Linked DNA regions of Homo sapiens: region 1 is linked to region 2. Evidence: promoter capture Hi-C in 16 types of primary human blood cells and fetal thymus (Javierre and others, 2016). All regions are on one chromosome and are shown on one strand. The core of a region is centred on a gene start or on the middle of the fragment in contact, and the rest is flanking DNA. Distances in the headings are between cores, read along the strand shown. Region 1 overlaps ATP4A (ATPase H+/K+ transporting subunit alpha). Region 2 holds the start of HSPB6 (heat shock protein family B (small) member 6).

Region 1 (6,841 bases), core at 722-3,221, 210 kb before region 2:
GGATGATCTTTGAGCAGTGGCAGAGGCCAGGGCCCTCAGGGAACAGATGATAGAGGGGAGCTAGAATCCAAGAGAAGGCCCTTGGGGGGCTCTTCCTCCTCACAGCCCCAACCTGGGCCTCCTCACATGGGCCCTTCCCGGGCTGGTTGCCTCTGAGGCTCCTGGCCCCAGTGTCCCCCTCCAATCCATCCTCTGTATGGCAGCCAGGGGATCTATCTGAAACCCGTCTAACCAGGTCATCCTCCCACTTGCAGCCACTTGCGGCCCCTTGTTACACAGTGGACAGTCCAATTGCTTGGCCTTTGGTTTTACCCAACCAGCAAAACCAGCTTTTCTGAAACTGCTCCCTAGAATAATTTGTCCAGCCAGATTCTTAACATCGTTCAAGCCATGGGGTCAGCATGGGGCTGGGGGGAGAGTTGTGACTGTGAGCTCCTCAGTTCTATGGCCCTCAGATCAGATCCCAGCCTGAGCCTTCTCAGGGTGGAGTGGAGAGACAGCTGCAGCCAAGAAGCAGAGCAGTGGGGCCCCCAGCTTGGACATTGTCCTGGATGCCCCCCTCCACCCTCAGCCTTCCTTGGTCCACTGAAGCCGGCTCCCCGCCTTTCTCTGAGGGGGATGTGTCAGAAGTTTTGAATGTCATGTTTAAGCTCCACTTTGATGTACACCCTCCCCACTCAGGAAGATGCTCCCCATCCTTGGTGTTCCCAGTGGGGTACCCCAGGGAGTAGGATAGCACCATTGCCCCTCCTCCTCCACCAGGCCGTTGAAGTTCCACCTGATTTTTTTTAAGCTTAGGCCTAGGAAAGCTCACTATGACCATCTCGATGTTTCCAGAGGGAGCATTTGCCTTCAGACGGCAGCTGCCATCTAGGCCACTCTTCCTCATTGTTTGGAGTAAAGACAGGGTCCATGGGTCTCTTGGGAGCTGGAAGTGATTGATCACCTTGACTTTGATGTAGAAAGGAAGTAGATGGGGCAGTCTATCTGGGTGGACTTGTGACAAGGTCACTTTCTCCCACACTTCCATGCCCCACATAGCTCTTCACACATATTGAGACAAGTGTAGGATGCAAAATTACCAACTGGAATAATCCCAGCTTACATGGGGTTCAGGGAGAGAGACTGGAGTGGCTGGGCCTGAGTTGGCAGAGGACGGTGAAGCCTGGGCGGTTGGACTGTGGGGAGCCAGGCTTCAGGTGATCGGGGTTATGATGGGAAAACCCCGGGTTATGGGGACCCAGAGGAGCCGCCTGGCCTGCCGTGGAAGCAGTGCGGGCTCCCCTGAGCAGAGGACATGTGAGCTGAGACCTAAAGAATGAGTGATTGGGGCAAGGCAGAGGTAATGGTCTTGAGGTCAGAGAGGGGGCCTGTTTTTCCCAAGGGAACATAACTGGTTGGAATGAGTTCAAGGGGACTTGTAAGACTACAGAAGCTGGCAGGGGTCAGATCACAGGAGGCTTTGGGAACCAAGGAGAGCTCTAGGCAGAGGAAGGACAGGGTCAGATTTGGCTTTAGGAAGCTCTGCATGGCTGTTGTCTGAAATGGGAAAGCTGAGGCCACGAGGCCAGGGCTGGACCAGGGCAGGGCTTTGTGGGGTTAGGAGAGTGACTAGAAGCCAAGCCCAGGTGTTGGTGATCAGTGGCTGTGTGTATTTATTTACCGGCAGGGGGCGCTAACAGGTAAGGGAGGAGCAAAGAGTTCCAGGATAACTGGAGTTTGGGGCTTGTAAGCCCGAGGGCTCACCACGTTTCCAAGGGAGAAGGGACCACACTGATGGGACAGTGGGACTATCAGATTGGGTCAGTGCATGGGTACAGGCATGGGGGGTGATGAAGAGGCCAGTGTAGGTCACCAACACTGGGGGAAGCTGGGGACAGAGGTGGGTCTCACTGCAGAAACAACTGAAGCCATGGGGGACTGGGGGGCTGTGGTCACAAGGAAGGAGAAGCCCAGGCCCTAGCCAGAGAAAGCCACATAAGAAAGAGGAAGAGAGGTGAACAGAGGGGCTGGGAAAGGAGCGGCAGAGATGGGAGGTAGGGGGATGGGGTTAACCTTTCAGGTGAGGGGTGTGAGGAGGGGACCTCCAGGAGTTGTTCAGGAACTGGCCATTGCCGGGACAGAGGAGTAAGCAGGTAGGCTCAGAAAGGAGACACCGCTGGGGGGTGGGGGATGCTTGATGTGGAAATGACTTGGGCCCCCTTGTGTCTGGGAGCCTCCAGGAGGGAGAAGGGTGCTGAGAACAGAGAAAGCCCAGAGGTGGTAGGGGGTGCCTATCGCCACGGCCCAGCTTGCGTTTAGATGCCATGACCCTGGGCAAAGGAATAGGAATCATTTCCCCAAGGCAGGTTTATTGAGGACCTACTATGTGCCAGGCTGTGTACTAGGCACTGGAGGTGCAGCCCTGGATAAACAGCCCCCATGTACAGGACTGTGGGAGATCACAAGCACTAATGAGAGACGCTGAGGACAGTGCCTGGCACCAGATACAGCACAGTCAGCATGAGCTGGTTTTATTACCATCGCCCAGGACACAAGCGTGTCTTTAACGAAGGGCCCTCAGGCAGCCGTCCAGCCTGGACTGGAGTCCTAAGAACAGAAACACCCTCCAGAAGCGGTCAGCTGTACTCCCTGTCAGAGCCCCACCGCCACCACAGGTGGCGGCTTTCCCGAGGCCAGCCCAGAGGACTGCCCAGGCGCTGCTGCTCCAGGAGGTGCGAACCTTGGGAATGGGGGAGGGGAGTGGGCAGGTCCCTCCAAGTTTGGGGTGCCGTGGGCTACAGAAGCAGATACTGGTGGGGCTGGGACTCTTGGTTGCTCAGATATCTTGGTGGCTGTCCAGAGGGTCCCACGAGCCCTGCCCCCACCTGCTGTGGCAGTTGCAGGGATGCTTGAAGGCAGTCGTCCCTCTAATAGTAGAGTTCCTGGTCCCACCAGCCTGGGAGAGAGAGGGAGAAAGGAGACTCAGTGCTGGGGGTGCCACTTAGGCAGGGCCAGGGGCTCAGAGGTCAGTGCTGGTTGCTATGGAGGGTCAAGGGCTTAGAGGCCAAGTGTTGAGGATCAAAGGTGGGTGCAGCTGCTCAAACGTTTCAGTCCCCTGCCCCCAGGCTCCCAGTCTCCACACTCACTCCCTGGGCAACAGCGAACTCCAAGCTTCCGGATCTCATCATAGACGAAGATGAGGATGCCGTAGGGCAGGGGGACCAGCCACCACTGGAACCTGAAGGCACATGGCAAGGTGAAGGCCATCCCAGGCCTGTGCCCTACAGCCCCCTCCCTGTCCTTGCCCCTCACAGCCTCTCACCGAATGGGCATGAAGTTGAAGATGTTGGGCATGCCGGGGCAGTAGCACAGGAAGCAGCCGATGCAGACCTGGAACACGATGGCGATCACCAGGATCTTATTCCTGGGGGTGGGCAGAATGGGACAGGCCATTAGGAATTGGGGACGTGATGGAAATCAGGATACTGTGGGTCAAAGTAGGTCAGATGTCAGCAGCAGCAGGGAGGTGTTCTACACACTGAACACTGGAGTGGCCCGGGCCTCTCAGCACCACCCCTTTAGTGAAATGTGGAGGGGGCCGTGGGGGGAGTTATTGGCCAGTTAGAAAGGTTTTTTTGGCATGTCACCATCTGGCACTGGCACCCGCTGGCATTTGCCGGCTGTTCTAAACCACAGTCAGGATCTGATGGGAGTTGGGACCAGGGGTTGGAGGGCAGGAAGAGGGCCAGCCAGGGACACCTGAAGAAGCCTTGCTGGAAGGCAGAGAGACGGCGCGTCTTGCGGATGAGGACATCGGCGATCTGGCACACCTCAATGCTGATGAAGAACACGGTGTAGCAGGTGTACTGCTGGTACAGGCGCTGCCCGAATGTCTGCAGGCCAGGGGCAAACGGAAACAGCCTGAGTCCAGCCTGAGTCCCGGCGGAGAGCCTCTGCAGCCCACCGGGCATAGGGTCCCAGGGCCGTGAACCCCTAAATGCTCTCTCTGCCTTGCATCAGAGTGTGGGGGTGGGGGGAAGGAGAGAGGCAGGGTCTGCCAGGTGTGCAGGACCCCAGAACGTGGGGCCCAGAAACCTCAGCCTAGCAGAGCTTGGATGACAGTGGCCGGGAAAACTGTAGGCTGGGCCGACTGCTTTCATAGTGAAAGGGGGGAGGCACCCAAAAGAAAGGGCCTGGGAAAGGGGAATTGAAATCCTCAGATGGGATTTGCAAAGTCCAGTGACTCCAGGGGCCAGGCAGATGGCAAAAATAGGTGAGGCAGTCACCGCGGGCCTTTGGGAAAAGAGGGCAGATGCCCCATTTAAAGGGGGCAGCCACTATGCAGCCCATTTCTTCAACACAGCTACTTTTTTTTTTGAGATGGAATCTCGCTCTGTCACCCAGGCTGGAGTGCAGTGGTGCAATCTCAGCTCACTGCAACTTCCGAATCCCAGGTTCAGGAGATTCTCCTGCCTTAGCCTCCCAAGTAGCTGGAATTACAAGCATGTGCCACCATGCCTGGCAACACAACTCCTAATACCAGCTAACTGTGGGGATCACTGACTGCTCCAGGTGCCGAGTGTTGCACGTGCATTAGCTCATTTAATCCGCTGGGTAACCCTAGGAGGTAAATCAGTGGTGCTGGAACTTGAACATGCATGAGAATCCCAGCAAGGGCTCCCAGAGGGCTGGGATAGAGCCTGAGAATTTGCACTGCAAACATGTTCCCAGGAGATGGTGATGCTGCTGGTCTGGGAGCAAACTGAAAACCACTGAGGTAGACTTTGATATTCTCTCCACTTTGCAGGTGAGAAAACAGGCACAGAGAGGCAAAGCAACCTGCCCAGGGTTACACAGCTTGTGAGAAGCAGTACCAGACCATAAGTCCAGGCAGTCTGGCTTCAGTGTCTACCTTAACCATGATAGTAAATGTTTAAGGGAAGTATCCTCGTCTGTATGTAACTCTACAGGTGAACTAAACACATCTGCTGGCCAGATCTAGCCTCACTGTGCTCCAAACCTTCATTAAAATAGACCACATGTGCAAATACCCTGTGGGAGTGATGCTGTAGGGAAAATAGCAGAATAGGGGCCTGGTTCCACATCTGAGATGATGCATTAGTGTCAGGGCAGAGACACCCATCTGCAGTTGCGATCATCAGAAGCAGGAGTTTGGAGCTGGAGATGGTGGGAAAGGCCCTTGCCCCCCCGAACTGGCAGGGAGTCTGGGGGTCCGGGATGCTCTGGCTGAACTCAGTCACACGTGGAGGAACAAGTGGGCCGCACACAAGGCAAGTTGCCCTGGGAAGGAGGGAGCCCAGGGATGGGATGGGGCGGGGCAGGGCTCACCCACTCCTGGCCGTAGCTGTCCTGCAGATCTTGTAGGTGGTGGTCCTCCCACTGCGCCCGCAGCCCCACGCACAGCAGTGGGAACCAGCCCTCCTGGGCCATTGCCGTGAAGTAGTCAGTGAAGCCAGCAAAGGACTGAATGGCACCTGGAGAGAGACAAGGGGACACAGGGAGACAGAGATGGACACAGAGACAGGGACACAGGAAGAGAGGGACATGGAGAGACAGGGACACAGATACACAAAGGTCAAGGACACACAGACAGGGACACGGGAAGAGAGACAGGGACACAGATACACAAGGTCAAGGACACACAGAGCCAGGGACACAGAAACAGTGACAGAGACACAGAGGCAGAGAGAGAAGCAGGGACAGAGAGACAGAGGCAGGGACAGAGAGAAAAAGACACATCCAGGACCCAAAAAGACAGAAATAGGCAACAACTCAGAGACAGGGTCATGGAGAGCAAGGTCAGAGAGAGAGCAGGGACACAGCAGAACCAGAGAGACTGTCACAAACAGAGAGGGACACGGAGGACAACGGAGACCCAGGACCAAATGCAGACACTGAGGTCCAGAACCAGCCGGAGCCCAAGGCAGGGCCTGGGGCAGGCGAGCAGCCCAGCGCAGAGCCCCCCACCTCCAGGCTCCCCGGCCCACGGGCACCCACCAATCTGGAAGTAGGAGTAGGCAGCCAGGGGCTCGTTGACCAATCTGTCACGCTTTGGGTTGCGTGGACGCAGGTGCATGATGTCACTCTCGGCCTTTTCATATGCCAGGGACACAGATGGGAACTGGCCAGGAGTGGAAGGAACTGGGACTGAGGGTTTGGCTGGGCCCTTGTCCCCTCCACTTCGGGTCCCCCTTCCCCCACTTGTGAGCAGGAACAGGACTGAGGTTAGCAGGCAGGACCTGCAGGGACGGCACAGCCACACCAGCCTGGACAGCCTGGGCCCCACTGGCCCCTGGGTGTTGGCATCCTGGTGCCCATCTTCGTAAGAACATCTGCTTTTATCTTCTCCCTCTGTCTCCCTCCCTCTCTTTCTCTGTTCCTCACTCTGTTTCTCTGTCCCTGTCTCCAGTGTAATTCTCTGTGACTGTATCTGCTCTTGTGTATTTCTGTGTCACTCCCTATCTCTGTGTATCTTCAGTCTCTCAGTGTCGCCGTGCCCCTTCATCTGCTTGTGCCTAGAGTGGCAGCAGAGCATACTGACCACGACCACAGGCTGTGGGACCTGTGACTGCTCAAGCTCAAGTCACAGCCGGGCCACTTATTTGCCCAGTGACCTGGGACAATCCACTCTACCTGTCTATGCCTTGATGAGCTCATCAGTAAAGTACGGGTGATAGTAACAAAACTCATCTCATAGTGTGGTTATGAGTACAAAATTAAGGAAATGATGGTGTGTCTGGCCCAGAGAAAGCACTGTGTAAATGTTACCGAATAAATACCTGTCAACACAGCTGCGCCTCTGGCTGCATTCGTGACTGTATCTGTGGTTCTTTTCTGT
Region 2 (6,290 bases), core at 320-2,819:
ATCGGCTTTAATAGAGGGAGCCTGAGGAGGCTCCCGGGGTGCGGGCGCGGCCCAGCCCCCTCCTACTTGGCTGCGGCTGGCGGTGGGGCCTGGGCCGACGCTGGTGCGGCCTGGATGGACAGGACGCCCTCGGGGGACAGCGCGGACGTCACGGCAGCCGGATCCACGCCAGGCGGCAGGCGGTAGCGACGGTGGAACTCGCGCGCGACGAATCCGTGCTCATCCTGGAGGGGAGGGAGGCTTGAGCGGCCCCGCCCCTCCGGCCCGGCGGCGAGCGTACCCGCTCCAGCCCCGCCCCACGCCGCGGCTCACCGGGCGCTCCTCGTGGCGCGCGTGCACCTCCACGTGTTCGCCCACCACCTTGACAGCAATTTCCTCCGGCGAGAAGTGCTTCACGTCTAGCAGCACCGAAAAGTGGCCGGGGTCCGTCGGCACCTGAGCGCAGCGGGCGCGGGCGGGACTGTCATTGGGCTGGGCCAGGCTCCAGGACCCACCCAGGGAGACCCCACCCCCGTCGGTTCCGTGCCGCGGCTCACTCTGGCCTCCGGAGTTGAGCAGTCAGCTCTCCTACTGGGAGTCACCCAGGACCTCTTCACCCTGAACAACAGGGATACGCCCTCCCCCTGTAATATCTGGGATTGCCCTCTCCCCCGCAGTGATGAGGCTCCCTTCCCCTGCAAGGTCAGGAACCTCTGCCCTCCCCCGGTGTCAGCGAATCCGAAGTCATCGTGCCCCCCAGGGCACTGATTCCCCAGCTCCCTCCTCAGAGCCCCGGGTCCCTTCTCCGCCAGCCCCGCCAAACTCGCCAAGATGCCCCTTTCCCCGTCTCCAGGGTCCTCTGCCTACTCTCCCACTCGAGTCACGGGACCTCGGCAGCTACTGGTAGCCTTCCCCCACTTCAGAGTGGCCGGGAACCCTTCCTCAAGTCGCAGGGCCCTCTCCCCTCCTCTTCTGGAGATATCGGGCCACCGCACACAGTCTCTCAACTCTTCCCCGAGACTAAGAACATTCCTTCCCCTCAGGAGTCACTGCCCGCCTCCTTTTCCCCAGATTTCCCGGATCACCAGCCTCCTTCAGAGTAAGCAAGACTCCCCTTAGAGTGACCCAGGCCTTCCATTCTCTGGAGAGCTGAGAGCCCCCCACCCCGCCCCCCACCTAAGAGCGACGGGGACCTCCCACCCGCTGCAGTGTGCGGGCCTCAGATTCCCATTGACTCCGGAAGCCCTTCGGAGCTGCGGACTCTCCACCCCGCCCAAGGCCAACGAACATTCTCTCACATGTTCCCACCCCAGGCTGCCCCAGACCCCTGGCAATGGAAGTGGTCGAGTTCACCCCTCCCCAGGCCTGGCACCTGGGCGACGGGCAGCGCCACGCTGGGTGCGCGCAGGTAGTAGGGGGCGAGCGTGGTGGGGCAGAGCGCAGCCAGCTCGGCCTCCAGCAGCCCCTCGCCGAAGCGCTGGTCAAAGAGGCGTCCGGGCGCCGAAAGTCCGGGCAACGGGGCCGAGGCGCGGCGCAGCCAAGACGGCTGCACAGGCACAGGGATCTCCATCCTGCTCCTCCGCGTTGCAGTGCCCCTGCGTGCGCAGCCGCTCATTTATAGTGCGCCCTGTGCCGGCCCCTCGGAGGGCTGCCCAGGGACACTGGGACCGTGGCCAGACCCGGCCATTAGGAGAGCCTTATTTAGAAACCCAAACAATGACTTGGCCATTTATTAAGCGCCTGCTGGATGCCTGGCAAATGCTGTCAAGAAGGTGACATGAAGATTCCCCAATTTCCAGAAGAGGAAACTAAGGCTGAGGAGGGGGAGCCTTGCGGGTGTGGGGAGCACAGCGTGGTGATTGGGGCCCAGGACCCAAGAGGCCCACGGAAGAGTTTCCAGTCCCTTTAATCCACTGCCTCCCCCCTGGCAGCTCTGAGGATGACGCAGATGGAGGTCTTTAGGAGCAGATTCCTGGAGAATGCGGTAGCCCCGCCAGGATGTCAGGAGGACATAGAACAGGCCCTCCCTACCCTTATCCTCAGCCAGACCTTGGGCCCAGTCCCCCGGCAGGCCGGGCCTAATTCTGTGCCTCTGACTCAGCCTCTGGTGCGCAGAGGCCAGGGGGCGCGAGCATGAACAGTTCAGGCTGGCCCCCCGGGGGCCGCGCGCTGGGGCTGGAAATAGCTCATTTTGATCCCGCTACCTCGGCCAGGAGCCCAGACCTGGCAACTGATGCAACCAGCTGCTCCTGCAGCAAGAAAGAAGTTAGATGACCGTTGGGACGGACTGATTGGCCCAACTGATGGAGGAATAGCGGTTAGAGAGAGGGCAGAGCGCGCCCCCCCCCCAACCCGCCCCACTGCCCCTGCAACAGAAAGAATGGTAGTTAGACCGGGGTCGGGACAGGACTTCTGCAGCAAGAAGGCGCTTAAAAAGCGGGACTTTTAAGCGAGGGTACTTTAGATCACCTCCTAACCGCAAGCCCAGCCTCAGATCCTTCCCATTGGTGCACGGTCTTGCCAATTACTGCTACACTCGGCAGGTTCTCCAATCAAACACGCCCTGTCGGGCAGGCAGTCGTCCCAGCCAATCCTGAAACACCTCCCTCCGGGTACTTCTGTTTCCTCTCTTTCATTGGTCGCCTTGGAGGCCGCTCGCCTCCGGCGCGGGCACAGAGAGGGGCGGGGCTGATAGGGCGTTGCTAAGCGACGGAGATGCGCGCGGGGCCTGTTGGGTGAAGGAGCAGAGCGGCCGGAAGCGCGGAGGGAGCCGCGGGATGGACCGCAGGTGAGGCCGATCGCTCTTCCAGGGACTACAGGAGGCTGGGGAGGACCAACGGCGAGAGCAGCACAGCCTAGGACGGGCTGGATACGGTCTGGAGTCGCTAGGGCTCCACCGCACTGGAACTACAATTCCCAACATGCTCCACAGCCGTTGGCCTCTCCAGCCGTAGCCGTTAGCATCCCGGGGGTCCCCTAAGAGTCTTATGTTCCTCTCTGAGTGGGCCCCAAGGAATTATTGCCTCTAAAGGTGTCCAAGAAAGGCTTGAGATCTGAATTTCTTCATTTTGAAATGGCCCCCAGACACGCCTGGGCGTTGTCTTTGAACTTTCTCGCGGAGGCGGAGCCCAGTGGATCCTGGGGCTTGTAGTCCATCTACCCTTTGCCTTCGTGTCCCCCAGGAATGTATGGGAAATGCTCGGTGATATAATCCAGCCGCGGTTCTTTCTTTCTTTCTTTTTTTTTAAGACAGAGTCTCTCGCTCTGTTGGCCCAGACTGGAGTGCAGTGGCACAATCTTGGCTACTGCAACCTCTGCCCCCGGGTTAAAGCAATTCTCATGCCTCAGCCTCCCAGGTAGCTGGGACTACAGGCACCTGCCACCGCGCCTGGCTAATTTTTTATATTTTTAGTAGAGACGGGGTTTCGCCATGTTAGTAAGGCTGGTCTCGAACACCTGACCTCAAGTGATCCACCCGCCTCGGTGTAATCCCAAAGTGCTGGGATTACAGGCGTGAGCCACCACGCCCGGCGAGCCGCGATTCTTAACCTGAACTCCACTTCGCAATCACCTGGGACGCTGCGGAAAAGACACGGAGGCCCAGCCCCACTAATAGATATTCTGATTCTGTTGGTCTGGAATGGGAACCGCGCGCCTGTAACGTTGAAAAGCCCCTCCTAGACTGGATCCAGGGTTGAGAACCACCGGCTGTCAGTTCCTGAGTTGCTCCCTGTTAAGACTGCTCCAGGGGCGGGCTCCCAGGACTCACCCTTCCACTGTCGATATCCTGAATGTGCAACGGTGCTTCATGGAAATGACAGTCCGTCTCCTCCAGGAATCTATGGGAATTGTCTGGTTCTGCCCTCCTCTAATGTCCCCCTCCCCAGGGCTGCGGCGAAACCACGTGCTGCCTGAACCCCACTTTCCTCTTGCAGCCTGCCAGTTTTCTCCATTCAAGATAGTCCCTTTGGAGATGCGCCCCTGGGTCGAAGCCACTACTGGCCATCCCAGAGCCAGACCTGGTGTCCCAAGGTGAGGACACCCCTCAAAGAGTGCTGAGTGCCAGCCCAGTAGCAAGAGAATGACCTTTAGAGGGTAGGAAGACATGTGATGAGAGATAGGGATGAGAGATTTAAGAGACAGCCCCTTGTCCCCTCCCCACGGCCCTGCCCTTGTCCCCCTCTCTACCACCTGGATTCCCCATCTGAGCCCCCATCACACTAGGTTGTTATCATTACAGGATGTGTTTCCTCCCCTCTGGACTGAGACTTTGTGTGTGTCCTGGTTCCCCTGCAGGGATGACCCATGAGACCTCACACTTTTTCTTCTTGTGCTCTTCCCTGATCTTAGACCCTGAGCCCATCCAGGTCTCAGAGATCCAGGCTCCCACAAGCTCCCAAGGCTCTAGCCACAGGTCCCAACTCCCCTGAGCTGTTTGAGGAGTCCTGGCCATCCAGTTCAGGGACCCCCTCCCTGCCCAGCACCACTGAGGGACAGATGTGGGCCTCCCCAGCACCCACCCTGATTGACAGCGGGGACTCCGTGGTGGCCAAGTAAGTACCAGCAGCCCTGGGGGAAAAAGAGGCTTTGGGTTAGAGGGAGGGAGAAGGCATGCAGTAATAATCATCATGGCCAGAGCTGTTTCTGCAGCACTCTTTTAGGACCAGGCAGTTTATGTGTGTTAAGAACTCTGGTGCTAGACTGCCTGAGTTCAAATCCCAGCTCTGTCATTTAACTCTCTGTATGATCTTGGCCTCAGTTTCTTTATCTCTTTTTATTTATTTATTTATTTGTTTAGAGACAGGGTCTCGCTCTGTTACTCAGGCTGGAGGTCAGTGGTACAATCACAGCTCACTATAACCTCAAACTCCTGGGCTCAAGCCGTCCTCCCACCTCAGCCTCCTGAGTTGCTGGGATTACGATGCATGCCACCACACCCAGCAAACCTCCCACCTTGGCCTCCAAAAAGTGCTGTGATTACAGGCCAGACGTACCATGCCCAGCCTCAGTTTATTTATCTCTAAATTGGGTGTTTTGTTTTGTTTTGTTTTTGTTTTTGTTTTTTTGATGGAGTTTCACTCTTGTTGCCCAAGTTGGAATGCAGTGGCATGATCTCGGCTTACTGCAACCTCTCCCTTCTGGGTTCAAGTGATTCTCCTGCCTCAGCCTCCCAAGTAGCTGGGATTACAGGTGCCCACCACCACACCTGGTTAATTTTGTGTATTTTTAGTAGAGATGGGGTTTCACCATGTTGGCCAGGCTGGTCTCAAACTCCTGACCTCAGGTGATCCACCTGCCTCAGCCTCCCAAAGTTCTGGGATTACAGGTGTGAGCCACTGCCAGGCCTAAATTGGGCATATTAATAGTACACATCCCCTAGGGCTGTTTTGAGCTTTCAGTGAGTTACTATATATAATGATCTCTAGCAGTGCTTCTCACATAGTCACCACTTAGATTTGTAGAATACAGGTTCAGCTGCTGTAACAAAGAGTCCCAAATTAATTATGGCTGAAACAAGATAGAATTTATTCCTCCCTCACCTGCAGTCCAGGCAGAAGCCACCAGGGATGATGTGGCAACCCGTAGTTGAGGTGTCAGGGACACAGGTTACTTCTGTCTTGTTGCTGTCCGAACTCTAGGCCGTTGCCCTTTCCTTCATGGTGCAAAATGGCTTTCAACCACATCAGCTTTCCAAAATCACATTTCATACCCTGTTTGTCAAGAACTTAGTCACGTGGTCACAAGGCTACAAGGGTACCTGGTAAATATAGTCCATAGGAGACTGGCTGTGTGCCCAGCTAAAAGTTACATTCCTGGCTGGGCACAGTGACTCATTCCTGTAATCCCAGCACTTTGGGAAGCCAAAGTGGCAGGATCCCTTAAGCCCAGGAGTTCCTGACCAGCCTGGGCAACATGGCAAGACCCCGTTTCTACTAAAAATACAAAAATTGGCAGGGCTGCAGTGGCTCACGCCTGTAATTCCAGCACTTTGGGAGGCCAAAGTGGGTGGATCACCTGAGATCAGGAGTTTGAGACCAGCCTGACCAACATGGTGAAACTCCGTCTCTACCAAATTAGCCGGGCGTGGTGGTGCATGCCTGTAATCCCAGTGACTTGGGAGGCTGAGGCAGAAGAATCACTTGAACCAGGAGGCAGAGGTTGCAGTGAGCCAAGATCACGCCATTGCACTCTAACCTGGGCAACAAGAGCAAAACTCCGTCTCAAAAAATAAACTAATTAATTACAAATAAATAAATAAATAAAAATACAAAAAGTAGCCGAGTGTGGTGGCATGCACCTGTGTCCCAGCT

The links. Contacts are between HindIII fragments. The CHiCAGO score rates a contact against its expected background, and 5 or more counts as called.
Region 1: a fragment that was not itself captured here is called in contact with the fragment with the promoter of HSPB6 in region 2 in 1 of 17 cell types (neutrophils); the score reaches 5.0 in neutrophils.

What each region holds. Positions count from the first base shown.
Region 1 is chr19:35,547,706-35,554,546 of GRCh38, forward strand. It overlaps ATP4A (ATPase H+/K+ transporting subunit alpha), which reads right to left. Exons shown (of 22, transcript NM_000704.3): 17 at 6,001-6,124; 18 at 5,332-5,477; 19 at 3,742-3,875; 20 at 3,305-3,406; 21 at 3,129-3,220; 22 at 2,326-2,938. The coding sequence ends at 2,910. Among named protein-coding and RNA genes, the nearest start is that of TMEM147-AS1, 5.1 kb to the left of the region's middle. The HindIII fragment of the contact is 2,360 bases long and covers 792-3,151 here.
Region 2 is chr19:35,755,460-35,761,749 of GRCh38, forward strand. HSPB6 (heat shock protein family B (small) member 6) reads right to left here and starts at 1,570. Exons shown (of 3, transcript NM_144617.3): 1 at 1,352-1,570; 2 at 313-435; 3 at 1-224. The coding sequence starts at 1,549. The coding sequence ends at 63. It overlaps PROSER3 (proline and serine rich 3), which reads left to right and starts at 2,717. Exons shown (of 11, transcript NM_001367856.1): 1 at 2,717-2,767; 2 at 3,915-4,011; 3 at 4,330-4,532. The coding sequence starts at 2,757. RefSeq lists enhancers at 1,822-2,393, 2,722-2,961, 3,002-3,061. The HindIII fragment of the contact is 14,255 bases long and covers 1-6,290 here.